Linked DNA regions of Homo sapiens: region 1 is linked to region 2. Evidence: promoter capture Hi-C in human tissues and cell types (Jung and others, 2019). All regions are on one chromosome and are shown on one strand. The core of a region is centred on a gene start or on the middle of the fragment in contact, and the rest is flanking DNA. Distances in the headings are between cores, read along the strand shown. Region 1 overlaps NUBPL (NUBP iron-sulfur cluster assembly factor, mitochondrial). Region 2 holds the start of AKAP6 (A-kinase anchoring protein 6).

Evidence for each region. The method cuts DNA at HindIII sites, captures the fragments that hold promoters and counts their contacts. A contact is called where the count stands out against the background at its distance.
Region 1: a contact is called between a fragment that was not itself captured here and the fragment with the promoter of AKAP6 in region 2, in 2 of the 25 tissues and cell types used here (dorsolateral prefrontal cortex and hippocampus).

What each region holds. Positions count from the first base shown.
Region 1 is chr14:31,564,266-31,571,453 of GRCh38, reverse strand. It overlaps NUBPL (NUBP iron-sulfur cluster assembly factor, mitochondrial), which reads right to left. Exons shown (of 11, transcript NM_025152.3): 3 at 6,406-6,440. Among named protein-coding and RNA genes, the nearest start is that of NUBPL, 6.5 kb to the right of the region's middle. The HindIII fragment of the contact is 5,279 bases long and covers 1-4,555 here.
Region 2 is chr14:32,327,308-32,334,570 of GRCh38, reverse strand. AKAP6 (A-kinase anchoring protein 6) reads right to left here and starts at 5,273. Exons shown (of 14, transcript NM_004274.5): 1 at 5,163-5,273. RefSeq lists an enhancer at 3,014-3,308. The HindIII fragment of the contact is 5,497 bases long and covers 4,291-7,263 here.

The sequences.
Region 1 (7,188 bases), core at 667-3,166, 760 kb after region 2:
TCACTTGGCAGGAATTCAGGGAACACTTCAATGAGCTGCTGAGCTGCCCTTCTGAGCAAGGCTAGCTCACACAGTGCCTTTGTGTGAATTACAAAGCAGCCCATGGGTGCACATCTTTTTTTTTTTTTTGACAGATCATAAACAACAGAACAAGAGGTGCACATCAAGAGGAGGGTAGCCTGAATTTCTATCATCACTCAATCCCCTCAACAAGCATCCTTGTGCAGGATATAACCAGCACAGCCATATAAGGAAGCCTGAAAGATAGGACACATAAAGCTGGTGAAAGGTAACACAAACATTCCAGTAGACAAGTAGAAGAATAACTGTAAGCTATCAAGAATAGTATATCCAGCCTAGACTGGCTTTGGCAAGTAACCCAGATTAGCTAGAGCATAGAAGCCATTTAGAAGAATAGCTAAAGATAAACCCAGAAAGGTAGATTGAAGCCAGATGGCAGAGGATATTGAATATCAGCAAAAGCATCCAGCTATGACTCTGAGCAAGGGAGTATGTGATTTCAATAGTGAGAGAAGTCTGGCATCATGTACTGGAAGGATTTAACTAAGTACGGGCAGGTAAAAGGTCATTGCAGTGGGATGCTAGTCTATGAGTTCCTCAAAGGCAGGGATTCTGTGTCTCATTCATTTTTGTATCTTCAGAACTAACACAGCACTTGGGACAGAGTAGGCACTCTATAATTGTTTGAGGTATAAATGAATGAATGACCCAAAAGTAGCACGTGCCTTAATTAAAATAGGAACAGTGGAAATAGAACAATGGGAACATACTGGAAAAATATTGTAGAGATAGGAAAAGGGATATTTGCTTGCTGATGAAATGTGGCAAGGATATTAGGGGAGAATCAATAAAGACTGTAAAACTGATAAATACTATGTGGATTGCATTACAGGTTTCTGTGAGAATCAAATATAATTATGTTCATGAAAATGCTCTACTTAAAACAATACTGCTTTACTCTGGAATAAAAGCTACTCATCTTGGGCAGATTTACTACTATATTTGACACTGAATATATCTCATCATTTTAAAACATTTGTCTTCCTTTTGTCCTTATCAGATTATAAAACCTTTAAGAGTACACTGGTGTCTACTCTGTTATGAAGCAATATTAATAAAACCTTATTAAATGTTGCTTTAATTAAACTTTCTCACAAAAGAAACTATTAAACCAATTTCAACTATATACCAAAAAAATATAGACACATAAACACAGACATACACTTATATAAATATACAACATATTTATATAGACTAAACATTTGTGAATGTAATCTTAGCAGGCTATAAGCTTCCACAGTATATGTTTATTCTTCTTTACTTTCTGCCGGTGTCTGGCAATGAGTGTTAGAGGTGCTCAATAAATGTTTGCTGAACTAAAATGAACTGAAATGAACTGACTTAGGAATCTCACAGAGCTTATCAATGGTTTCTGATGGTCTTTAAGTTTCCCTCTCCCAGTCTCAGTGCTCTTCCAAACTGTGCATCAAATTTTTGCCGTAAAAGAATGAGATCCATAATAAGGATGTTTTTAAGAAAGAGAAAAAAGAAAAATCAAAAAATAAGATTGTCAATATATAAGATCAGTGGGTACCATTAAGGTCTAACAACTGGCTTGGGGTAGTGGGCTTGATTTTCAGTGTTTGCCAATTTCCATGGTTTAAATATTCCCATCATGGGCCTATTTCAAGCTAACAACATGATACGAGTTGGTCTGCAAAATTCACCGAAAATTTAACAATCAGCTGTCACAAGCCAGTATGCACTGGCTCAGGCACACCATGGGTTGCAATATTTATATGCATAGTACACATGATCCCCAAATTTTGCTCTGCAATACTACCCATCCACATCCTCAAAGGAAAGTATAAAAGGCAAGGAAAAAGCAGGAAAAATCTACACCCTATTCCTATAATGCTTTTAAAACCTCAATGCAGGCCAGGCATGGTGGCTCACACCTGTAACTCCAGCACTTTGGGAGGCAGAAGTGGGTGGATCACTTGAGGTCAGGAGTTTCAGACCAGCCTGACCAATATGGTGAAACCCCATCTCTATTAAAAATACAAAAATTAGCTGGGTGTTGTGGCGGGCACCTGTAATCCCAGCTGCTCAGGAGGATGAGGCATGAGAATCACTTGAACCCGGGAGGCGGAGGTTGCAGTGAGCTGAGATCACACCACTGCACTCCAGCCTGGGCAACAGATCGAGATCTTAAAAAACAAAAACAAAAACAAAAACAAAAAAAACTCAATCTACAAGGTAGAGGTAGTCTTCTTTTGAACTAGGCATATGGTCCAGCCCAGAAATTCCTTTAGCCTAGACCAGTGACATTCAAACTTTTCTGATCATGTACCCCAATCAGTTTTTTAAAAGGTATTTGGGCATACATCCTCAATATGTTAATATATTTGTTTATACATTATATTAGAGCTACTATACTAATACCATATATAAGGTATATACAAACAAATATTAAAATAAAAATTAATTCAAATAGAAAAGAAAAATGTTCTGCCCACATCCCAATGGACTGTCTTGCAAATCTCCCCAGGGCTTACGCAATCCACTTCAGATATTACTAAGTACAACATGAAAAGTAAAATGAATTGCTTCCTGGACCTGTTTCCCCTAGGCCTACAACCTTATCTTATTAGATCTTGCCACTCCATGAAATATCTTGCTTTTATTATTATTTTCACATCACTCTAGTATATCAACTTTGGAAACAAAAGACATCATTCTATTTATAGCATTCTATTTTTAGTAGCAGCATTTCAATTTACAAAATATAGTAATTCTCAATCACTGAAAATGTCAAATCCTAGAAAACGTAGCATTCCTGAGTGTGATGGTAATATCATCCTCAAACAGTTGTTGGCCGAAGATTCATTTGATGAATCCAATTTTTCTGAAATAGACAATTCTGATGATTCAGAGAATTCTAATGTTAGTTCTGTTTAGAAATAACTCCAAGAAGAGTTTTTATATTTTATTTTCACATTGAAAATCAGTCAGATTTGGTTCAGCCTCGAAGGGCGTGTTTATGTAAAGTTAAATAAGTGCTGGCAGCGAGCTGCACTTTTTTTTTCTAAACAGGAAATGAGTTAACTGTTTTTTTCATCCTTGGATCCCTTATTACATAGTTACTTCACATTATCTATAAGACTCAAAGCTTTGGCTGCAATGATAACCAAATTAAAAGAGGTCCACACCTACAAATTTATCTACCTTCCCATCCATTGAATTTTCCGTTTCCTTCCTTAAGGAAGACAGGGTCCTTTTTCTAGGGTAACTAAGTGCTGTCATTAAAATCACTAGGAAAAAAACCATATTACTGGCTCTTATCTCAATACGGTTGCCTAAACATATATGTTTATCTCCCTTCTCTTCCAAATTCCATTGAAATGACAAGGAAACAAAATAGTCTAAAACTAAATAAAACCATAACCACACTAGAAAACAAAAGAGGGTGACATTAGCAGGTTAGAAGTGGAAAATTCTAGATCCATGGTTCTTAACTTTGGCATGCATCAAAATCGCCTAGAGGGTTGGTTAAAACACAGATTGCAGATCTCTATCCCCAGGGTTTCTGATTCAGTAAGCCTAGGGTGGGGCTCAAGATTTTACATGTCTAACAAGTTCCCAGGTAAAGCTGATTCTGCTGGTCAACAGCCACATTACAAGAACCATCCTAAGTAAGCAGAGGTCACTAAGAAAAACACTTTTTATTAATTTCAATTAGCATCCTCGGAGAGATTCAAGAGAATGGTACAACCTTTTTTTTGGAACAGCAAGTGGAAAATAAGAAATAGTTCTGGAAAAATTGGAAAAAAAAATAATTTCCAAATGAAAAACAAAATCAGAAGAACCTAATAACAACTAAAGTCCAATACAGCAATGTGAAAAATAGTCAAAGACATCTTTCAAAACACAGAGCAAAAGACAAAGAGATCAAAATATGACAGAAAAATTAACAAGCATAAAGGTCAGTATCTACCTAACAGGTTTCTGGAGACAGAACAAACACATCACAAAACATAATCAATGAGCAGAAGAAATTTTTCCTATGCTGAAAAATACTCAAAGCTTGATACTGCAGGGCCAAATCCCACGCAGGTTAAGCCAATAACTAGACGCATGTTTGTGGCACTTTTAAATGTAAAAGACATAAAGAAAACCTAAACTCTTTGAGAGGGAAAACACTGGTTATTACAAAAGAACATGAATCAGACTATCATCAGACATTTCATTAGCATGCTAGAAAAAAACGGTATGTTGTTTTCAAAGTTCAGAGAGGAAATTATTTTGAACCTGGAATTTTATAGTTAACTAGAATCTAGTTAAGCTATCAAATAACGAATATAAATTAAAGACACTTTTGGAAATTAAAGAAATAAGCAAATTTACTTCCTATATGTATTAGTTTCCTACTTCTATAAAATATTATCACAGAAGTCCAAAGAGATCTCAATGAGCTAAAATTAAGGTGTTGGCAGAATTACGTACCTTCTGGAAGCTTTAGGGAAAAATCAATTTCTTTGCCTTTTCAAGCTTCTGGAAGCTGACTACATTCCTTGACTAGTGGTCCCCTTCTGTCTTCAAGGCCAGCAATGGTGGATTGAATCCTTCTCTTATCAAGTCACTCTGACTCGGACCTACCTCCATCTTTCATTTATAAGGATCTTCAATTGGACCTAGCCAGATAATCCAGGATAATCTTCCCATCTCAAGATCTTTAATTTTGCTGGTGTTAGTCACACCAGCAAAGTTCCTTTTGGCAGGAAAAGTAACATATTTACAGGTTCCAGGAATTAGGATGTGGACACTTTTGGCAGGCCACTGTTCTGCCTACCAAACCATATAAGGACTCAAGGGTGTCCTTCAGAAAAACAAAAAAAAGAATTCAAGAAAGAGGATAAGATGGGATACATGAAAGTAGGTCCCCCATAAAAGGAAGCAAGTTGAAAAAAAATTTTTTAAGAAAAAATTTTGTCTTGATATTTGAATCTTCTCTTTCTAGAAGCGCAACTTTAGAGAAACTTAATTACATTTTCTTCCCTAAAAGTCCTTTTATGCTACCTGTTTCTATGGTGAATAAAATTTACATAACCAAAATATTATAAATCTTGTTTATTAGTTTCCAATTTTCAGAAATATACAGCCAAGCATCAGAAGACATGAATATCTATGTCTAGTTCCAGGATCTGGCAGATTCTGGACTCCATATACTGATAACATACTTACAGAGATACCACATATTATTTTTTCATATGTGCTATTTATTAGGAACTGAAGTTACATAGTACGGGTAGAAAATAAGTTAGAAGTATAGCCACAGTTAAACATATTAAATGATTCTTGCCTGTATTCTATAAAATAGGTATGAAGCAGAAATTAAAATCAATTCTGAAATACGTGTGTGCCTTTTCATTTAGTAGCTGATAATTTATGGAGTTGCAAATAAGTTGAATGTTATTTTTTTTAATATCTAAAAAGATAACATCCAACAATAATGAGACTATGAAAAATTGATACTCCCATAGACTATAGCTGAATTTTTTTTTCTTCTCCCAAGGAAAAGAATGGAACTGAAATTTTTTACAAGCAAACTTTTAGGAGTACAATTTAAAGTAGGAATATCTTTTGACCTAGTAGTTTTACTCCTAGGAATCTATCCTACAAAAATGTCATCACTTAGTATATAAGAATACTATTTAAGAACTCCACCATAGCATCGTTTAGAGTAGGGAAAAAATGGGACCCAACCTAAATATTTCATCAAATGGGAACTGGTTAAATATATTATCATTGACCATTAATGCACCAGCCATTAAGAATGAGGCACATCATGGAAAGATGTATGCACACACACATACATGTACATTGTTTTAGATTTTTATATGGAGAAAGGAAGAGCTGAAAGGATATACATAGAACTATAGCCTAAGTTAATTCTCTGGAACAGAAAGGAATGCATAAACTTTCAGTTTTGCATTACACACGTATTCCATTTGAATTTTGTTTTAATGGATATACACTACTTTCAGAATATCTTTCCCCTTAAAAAAACTTAATCCCTAACACTTAAAAACTGAACCCAGAATAATGCTTCTGTAAATCATAAAGGCAAAATTGGTTTAGGATATAAAGAACATCAAAGCCTCTTGTGGGATATATAGCAAACAATATATGGTCAACACTTAAATACATTATTATTATTAAATGTAACCAGTAGTGATGGCAGCATTGAGTTCCTTAAAGATATGCAACTCACTACAACTACACTATAGCTTCTGACAGAGTAAATAAAAAACACCAATATGCTCTTTATCATTGCCTTAAAAACATTTTAATAAATTAATATTTCTATTAATAAACACCTACCGAATCGTTCGCTGCTAGTGCAAGTGCAAGATTCACTGTAAGAAACAAAAAAAGTAATTGAATTTAGTAACTTTCCTTCTATTAAAATTCATTTTATCTTTTAATATTTTCATGTAATTTTTAATAATTTCATGTAATTTTAATATTTTCATGTAATAACCTAAGCATATAAATTTTGAACATATATCCCTTACTTGTAAAGAGCAAGCACATGGAGGAACACAGAAAGTAAAAAGAAAAGTAAAAAAGTAATTTGCCAATAAATGCAATAGATGCATGTCCCAAAACTAACATTTTTAAAAATCCATTTCTGTTACAATTTTGTTCAAATAATCCACTTAATTTTTTAAAATCATGTTAATATATAATTCAATTATTTTCAAAACCATATTTTATAGAAAAATTGTCTTTTTATTTTAAAAAATGTACACAATCTCATTGCCTTTCATTTATGATTACTATGCTCTGTCCCCCAGGCTGGAGTTGGGACCACAGGTGGGCACCACCACACCCAGCTCATTTTTTTTTTTTTTTTTTTTTTTTACAGACAGGGTCTTGCCATGTTGCCCTGGCTCAAGCAATCCTCCCACCTCAGCCTCCCAAAGTGCTGGCATTACAGGCATGAGCCACCGCATCCTGCCCCTACTGCCTTTTAAAAATAAATGCTGATATTGCAGGAGTTCCAAGTATCTAATTCATAAATACTCATGTATATGAAAGGCTGGACTACTGTGCACAGAGGGAAGGGAAAAGGGTAAAAGGTAAGAGAGTAAAATGTGTTCC
Region 2 (7,263 bases), core at 4,024-6,523:
AGATTAGACACAATAAGAGATTAACAATAACTAATAATAAAACAGAACAATTGTAACAATATGCCAGCATCACTAATCTTGAGCTTTGGAGTCATTATTAAGTAAAATAAAGGTTATTTGAACATGGGCATTATGATAGCGAGATAGTTGATCTGAAAACCAAGACGGCTATTAAGTGACTTAACAAGCTGGTAGCATATACAGCATGGATATGCTGGACAAAGGAATGATACACATCCCAGGCAGGACAGAACAGTAATGGTGAGAGATTTCACTGCACTATGCAGAACAGCGCATAATTTAAAACTTATTGTTTATTTCTGCAATCTTCCATTGAATGTTTTCAGACCACGGATAACCATAACCACAAAAGGCTAAATCACAAATAAGGGCGCGGAAGGGGCTACTGTACCTAAAACTCTGTTGCCATGGCCAAAGTCCTATATGGATTGCTATTCCTCTGAAAAACCACACTCAGGGCCCATCTACAGAGTTCAGTCAATATGATTGTTTCGAGAAATGCTTCCCATTTAAAGCAATACTGTAAGGCACACTAGGGCGATTAGATGAGACTGAAGGTAACTGGTATACCTGTCCTTGTACAACTAAGTGTGTAGTTGGTACCTTGTATGATACATACCTCCATCAGCAGGCTGGCTGGAATGCTCAATTTAGAGGGCTCTCTGGACAATTTTTAAAGGTGATGAATATCTTTTATAAAAACAAAAATATCTCTCCTTAACTGATCTGCCACACACATTTCATATTTCCATATGTCAAGTTTGTCAACTGAGATAGACATGCACTATTTGACTGATTATAATTTTATTTCTCAAAATAGTTTATACCAAAAAAATACTAATTGCCATATTGGTCTTGTCCACATCCAGAAAGATTCTAATCCAAACCCATGCAAGAAAAAAAAAAGTTATTATTTAATGCAGTAAGTTTACCTCCACATATAAACCATATAGCTATATGTACCTATACAAATGTGCACAGATAATGGGCTTCTCTAATAACACATGGAATAAAAAGTAAATAGAAATAGTATTGCAGTATTAGAGGAAATAAATTATTTTACCAATTTACCCATTTTTCCCTTCCCCTCTAGAATGTAGCTGGGGAAGAGATTTGCATCTGTCTTGCTCATTGCTATAGATTCCCTGACAATGCCTGGCATATAGGAGATATTCAATAAATATTTATTGAATTGAATTGAATCCATGCGATCAAAACAAACTGCCATTCATGGGTTCTAGGATTATAAATAGAAGAAAATCAGAGACATGTAGCAAGACCACCAACTTCCCTAAATTCCACTGGCTATTTTATTTCCTAATTGGAACCTAACTCCTGTAGTCATTGTACCTAGCAGCTTTGATGCTTTCTGATCAGCCTCTCATTCCTGTACCTCATGCAGACACAAGCTTGGGCCTCTTTGGAGCAGGTTAGGACAAAGGTTAACTTCTTCCTGGAACCTAGAAAAGGCTAATGAGCCCTGTGGAATAATATTTCTAAGTATTCACCATACAGGAATCAATATCAACATGCTGTCAGTGTGTGCATTAGCCCCACACTCAAACAAAGAACAGCCCTTAGAGCCCAATAATGACGCTGGGCGTGGATAGCTGGGGATGAGCAAGATGATACAGAAATGACTATATCAGCTCTCCTCAAACACAAGGCTTCCAGGTTATTACACAAGACTGTCATTCTTGTACTTTGTCAGAGATAGACAGAGTTTGGTTTCAGCCACTGATACATTCAGCAAAATAAATCCTCTATCTTCTTAACCTAAGAGATAGATTCAGATTACACTTTCCAGACTGTGAGAGAAGTTTCTGCTTCTGTTCTCAACACCAGGTTGAGAACAGAACCTGGTGCAACAGCAGGGAATACAAACATCTTAAAGTTAACAAAGCACCACAAATATAGCTGATAAGACAGGTTTATAACAAAGCTGAATCATTACTGACTCAGGTAAGACCTGCTTTGAGTGCAACTCCATCATGCCCACAATTATTGATGTAACATTTTCCATACAGAGATCCTGCTAGAAAGTTATATCAAGCAAGGGCAGTGGCAAAAGTCTAAGCATCAACTCTTCATTACTTAAATCTCTGGGTACAAAGTAAATATTCACATCTGATCAAGATTCATGCTCATCCTTACAGTGAAATCAACCTTAGTGTTGCAAATGACATTTCATTCTACATATGAAATCTGATTTTCCAATTAGAATGAGGAGGGGTGGGGTACGTGTGATAGAGTATAGATGACTGATCTGTATGGTATATACAGTAAAGATGTCATAAAACTGAGATGGCCGTGGGTAAGCATGTGTGCTGCATAGCCAGATCGCAATGGTTTGGAATCCTGGCCCAATCACTTATTAACTACATAACCTTAGCCAAGTTTATTCGCCTGGCTAAGGACTGGTTTTTGCAAAATGTGAATAATAACACCTAATCCTATAAAGTGAGATTATTACTCTCTACTTCATAATAATAATAAGGGCTAAATAAGATATACACAAAACTTAATTCAGTACTGATACACAGTAAGAACTGAATAAATGATAGCTATGATTGTTATTATGATTATTATTTTTATCATCCCTATGCGGCCTAGTTATCGGCAAAGAATTAACTTCTTTGTAACTTTGTAATGTATTTGTGAAAGCCATGACCAAAAGTATAGAGGACATTAACTTCTTGTGAGGCTTCCATGGCCTAAACTCTGTCCAATAAACATGGTCTTGATGATCTATCATTACTGTGAAACAAAATTCCTTAAACTGTAGAAAGTTTCAGTGAGGCACCAATAAATACAGCCATAGAGAAATCTCTCCCTTCCCCTATACACACACACACACCATCTACCCCTTGGGGATATATTAAAACTAAGACAACTGAAATAGCCTTAGCCAGTAATTAAGACATGCAGCTAATCAGAGAGCAGCGCAGGCTGTGGCCCTCTACAAAGAAACGAAGAAACAAAACATTAGGATGATAGCTCTCATTACCAGGGCTTTGTTCTCCTGGAGCAAAAAGAGCACAAAAGCATAAAGTTGGAGAACTGTAATTGCATTTTGAACATTTGCGGGGGGAAAAATTACAGGGTTGTCTGAACCGGGAGGATGTTCCACTAGATAACTGCGTCAGTCCACACCCACCAGCGCCCTTCCCCACCCTCAAAGCATGACTCCACTTTTTCTAACACTGCCCTTAAGGAATCTAGCTTTTGTGACTTCCAGTAATTGAACAAATCAACCATGATGAAGCAGCTGAAGAGCACTTTAAACAAAAGAGACAAGAATTAAGCAAACAGAAAACTCATTACAATGCTGCCTTTTGCTTTTTTTTACTCCTAGAAATTCATGTTACCAAACAAGTCTTTCTTCATTGCTCTTCTTCAGAAATAATACTTTAAGAAAATTCTAAAAGGCACTAAGTGATTTTATCCAGATTTATAATCTAGCTACAAGACATACTTTCCCTTCCCCCATCACCATCTAGCACTCTTCCCTGTCACCTTAGAGCTTTCGACTTAGATGTGTTCACACCCAGCAGTCCCAGCAGAGCTTTCTGCTCACATTATATGACATAAAAAAGCAGGCAATGAACAATTCATGCTTCTAAGTGCTTGCGATAAAGCCAGGCTGAGCTGACCTCTCCCATCCTATACAGCTGCATGTCAGAAACATAAGCTTAAAGGACTGAGAGTAGCAAGCATGTGCGTGATGTGGTATAAACAAACAAATTAAAACCTGAGGCCTTTCCTCTGGCTGGTGCCTAATGGGACTAGCATACTTAACTCTGTGCAAAAAAAAAAAAAAAAAAAAAAAAAAAAAATCACTCCAAGCTAGCTAAAGGTATTGCTTTTCCTGCTTTCCATGATATATCTCTTTAGCCCCAATAAACAGACTAAAAGAAGAGGAATTCAATGGTTGCCATTCTTTCGTGTAAGACTTTTTGAGTAAAAACTATCAATTTGGCAGCATTAAGCCACAAGACCACTCCCTGATTCTAAGTGGACATATTGATCAATTGAACTGACATGTGCCTCCTCCTTTCTCTCCCCTAGTAGCAATCAGCTGTACCAGGGAAATCCATTTCATTTCCCAAAACAAAAGGCAACATTCTGCTCCTTATCTGACACTGTCAGACTAATTTTTTAGAAAATAATAATAATAATAAAGATGCCTAAAAACAGAGCTAGGAGTTGAAATGAAAATGATACGTGTTTAGAGTTTTGGAATTGAGTTGAGGTTATGACTGAGTCCAGAGGTCTGTAATCCCTACAACCACTGAGGACCCTGATATTTATTCATCATACCCAGATTTTTGTTAAAGTTAAGCAAGGGATGGCAACACCACTGCCACTTCAGAGGCTCTCCCAGGGTTACCCTTCACTGCAACTGCCGCAGAGAGGAGACTTGTTCCTTTCTCAGTTACAAGTCAGCCTGCAAACAACTCCAGCTATTTCAGAGACTAGCTAGAGATGGAAAAATATGTGGCAGTCTTTCAACTAACTCTGAAGGACATGGGTTGAAGAACTACCATATAGATCAAAAGGCTCAAATAATTTCATTTGGTTTAGGTTTTTATGCTTTTAATAAATTCTGTCTTGAATATGCAAGAGATCCCCTTTCACATCAGGGTTATGTCAAATGCTTATTCAGCATTTGTTCCTTGCCATGAAGAAACTGAAACCCAACCGAGGTAAATAATGAATTTCATACTGCAAATCACTGAATATTTCATAATTCACAAGAGCAAAGAGGGGGCCAATTAGCTCTGCCTCCCAAAAAGAAATCTATATTTTTACAATGCTTAAATACTGTTAACTACTCATTTTAAAGCTTATCTGGGGTTTTGCAATTGAAAAATCATCTTATGTTTATGAAAAATTCTGTAAGAACACTTAAAAATAACAGACAGAGCTGGAGCAAGAATAATTCTACATATTTTAATTCCTATATGACTCTTACAGGCCTTTGTCTTAACCCGGCAGCCTGAAAAACGATTTAGGTAAAACAGCCCTTCTTTCCCCAGTCCATTTTAAGCAGAGACAACATCCCCCAATCTCCGCCTTAGCAGACACCGACTAACCAACAAAACAGCCGTGCAATTAAGGCCCAGACATTTAACACTCACCATCTCCTGATCCCACCGTCTTCTTTTGATGTTTACAGCACATCTGTAGGATGCAATACTAGGAGATGCCTTGTTTGACCTGCTGCATGATGCTGTGACATCAGTTCAGATGATGCAGCTCATTATGGGAAAGACTGCTGTTGCTATGGCAACTGGGATGTGCTAGGAATCCTTGCTGCATTTCCAGTGGAGCCTGAGACAATACGGAAGCCCTGTAAGAAACAGACGATATGCAAAATTTAGACCAAAGGAAGAGGATTCCTCATTGGACTAAAATCCATAGGTTTAAAAGGGATTTCCCTGAAAGCATTTTGGAAAAAACAAAAATTATCTCCCCCTTTGTTGTTATACATTTAGAAAAAAAAGGTGGGAGGAGAAAATAGAATTAGTACTAAGCAAATAAAAACTGAAATGTACAATGTTTCCTTATTAGACAATTTGATCACTTTTTCCTCCCTGGTCAGCACTGGGATAGCTTTTTAAAAGTTATTAAAAAGAATTTTTGCTCATCTGTCAAAGACCAAAAGAACAAAACAGCGAGCACAAAAATAATTAAAAATGGAATATAAACAGCTGACCAAATGACTCTAACTCTCAAGTAAACAAGTTTTAATTCTCAAAACATGGGCAAACCCTTGGCCAATGAAGTCTGTCCTGGTTATTTTCCCTGATGAACACCAACCCACAGAACCTTCCCATGCAGAATAAACCCAGCTTTCACCTGGTCATCAGATAGGCAGCAAAGGGAAGTTTGGAATCTAGAGGGGCACAACACACCACCCTCAACTTCTACTGACCCTTCCTTTGGCCTGCAGGGAACCCCTCCTTCTCATGGCCAAAACGCATGTGAGTCTTTTCTGGGATCAAACCTAGTGGTTGGAACAAGTAGCAGACCTGCTAGAAACTTCCTAAATCGTTGGCATTCCAAACATTGGGGTCTGTTTTCTTCTTTTCTGAACAATAAAACTGCCTACCACACAGATTATTTGTGCCCCTCCCCAACCCCAAAAGCTGGAACTGTGTGAAAAGCCACATTTAAACAAGACACGGTAAGGCATTTCTCCAGTTGGTAAAAGAAAAGCAAATCTAAAGCAATCACTTCTTTCCAGTCCTGAGCAGAAATCAACGTCATGTGGTGAGAACTGGGGAGAAGGAGATATGGACAGAGCAGCCTATGTTTTGCATATTTAATATTTGCAGGCCATTGATAGAGAAAAGCAGAATCAAGTTGACCTGTATCCACTCCGTCTTCACAACTCTGAAAAAGAACAACATTCCAAAAGCTTAAAACATGAGACAATTATGTTGTCTCCTCCTGCTTGAGATTTTAAAATGGCACTGTTAACCACCAGCATAGGCGGTGTGGGATGAGTGGCAGAAGGAATTCAGGCAGTGTCTCTGTAAACAGGAGCTAATAAAATGCCTGAGAAGTGCCAATATCCCAGCAGCGTGCACCATCAGCCTCGCACAGAGCAACCCTGCCCTAGATGGGAAGACAGACTTGTTCTTGCTTCATCTAGAGAGGAATTAAGAGACCAAAAGCAGGAGGTGAATCTGCCTGCTTAGGTCCTTTGTGGCATCAGCAGAGCCTGACTCCCTCCCTTTATCTTAGACCTCAGACCACATGCCACACACAAGGGGAGAAGTAGCAGGCAGCTACCCCAGTACAAAGAGTACAGATCTGAGAGTCAGGAAACCCAACTGTAAATGTCAGGTCCTCCTAGAGCATCTGTGTGATATCAGGCCAATTGATTAACTTCTTGGGGCCTCAAGTTTTTCATCTGCAGAGATGATTGATTTAGCTAATAACCATAGTTTTCAGGTTTTTCATTAGTAATATAACCTTTCTTTTAATGATACAGATCAAAGCTGGACTGCCTTGGTTGAGGCAAGATAAGAAGCCCAGAGCCCAGACTGATGAGCCATTCTCAACCACTGCCTCCAACCTCATTTGCTGTAAGCTGACTCTTTAAGATACCTCTGAAGAACCCTTCAGTCTCTGGAGAAGATAAAGAGACATGGACCTATTACAGAACAAGATTAGTCTTTCCAGAGCTGAAATCCACATGCTATAAAGAGGAGAGGACAGGGTGGGAGCAGG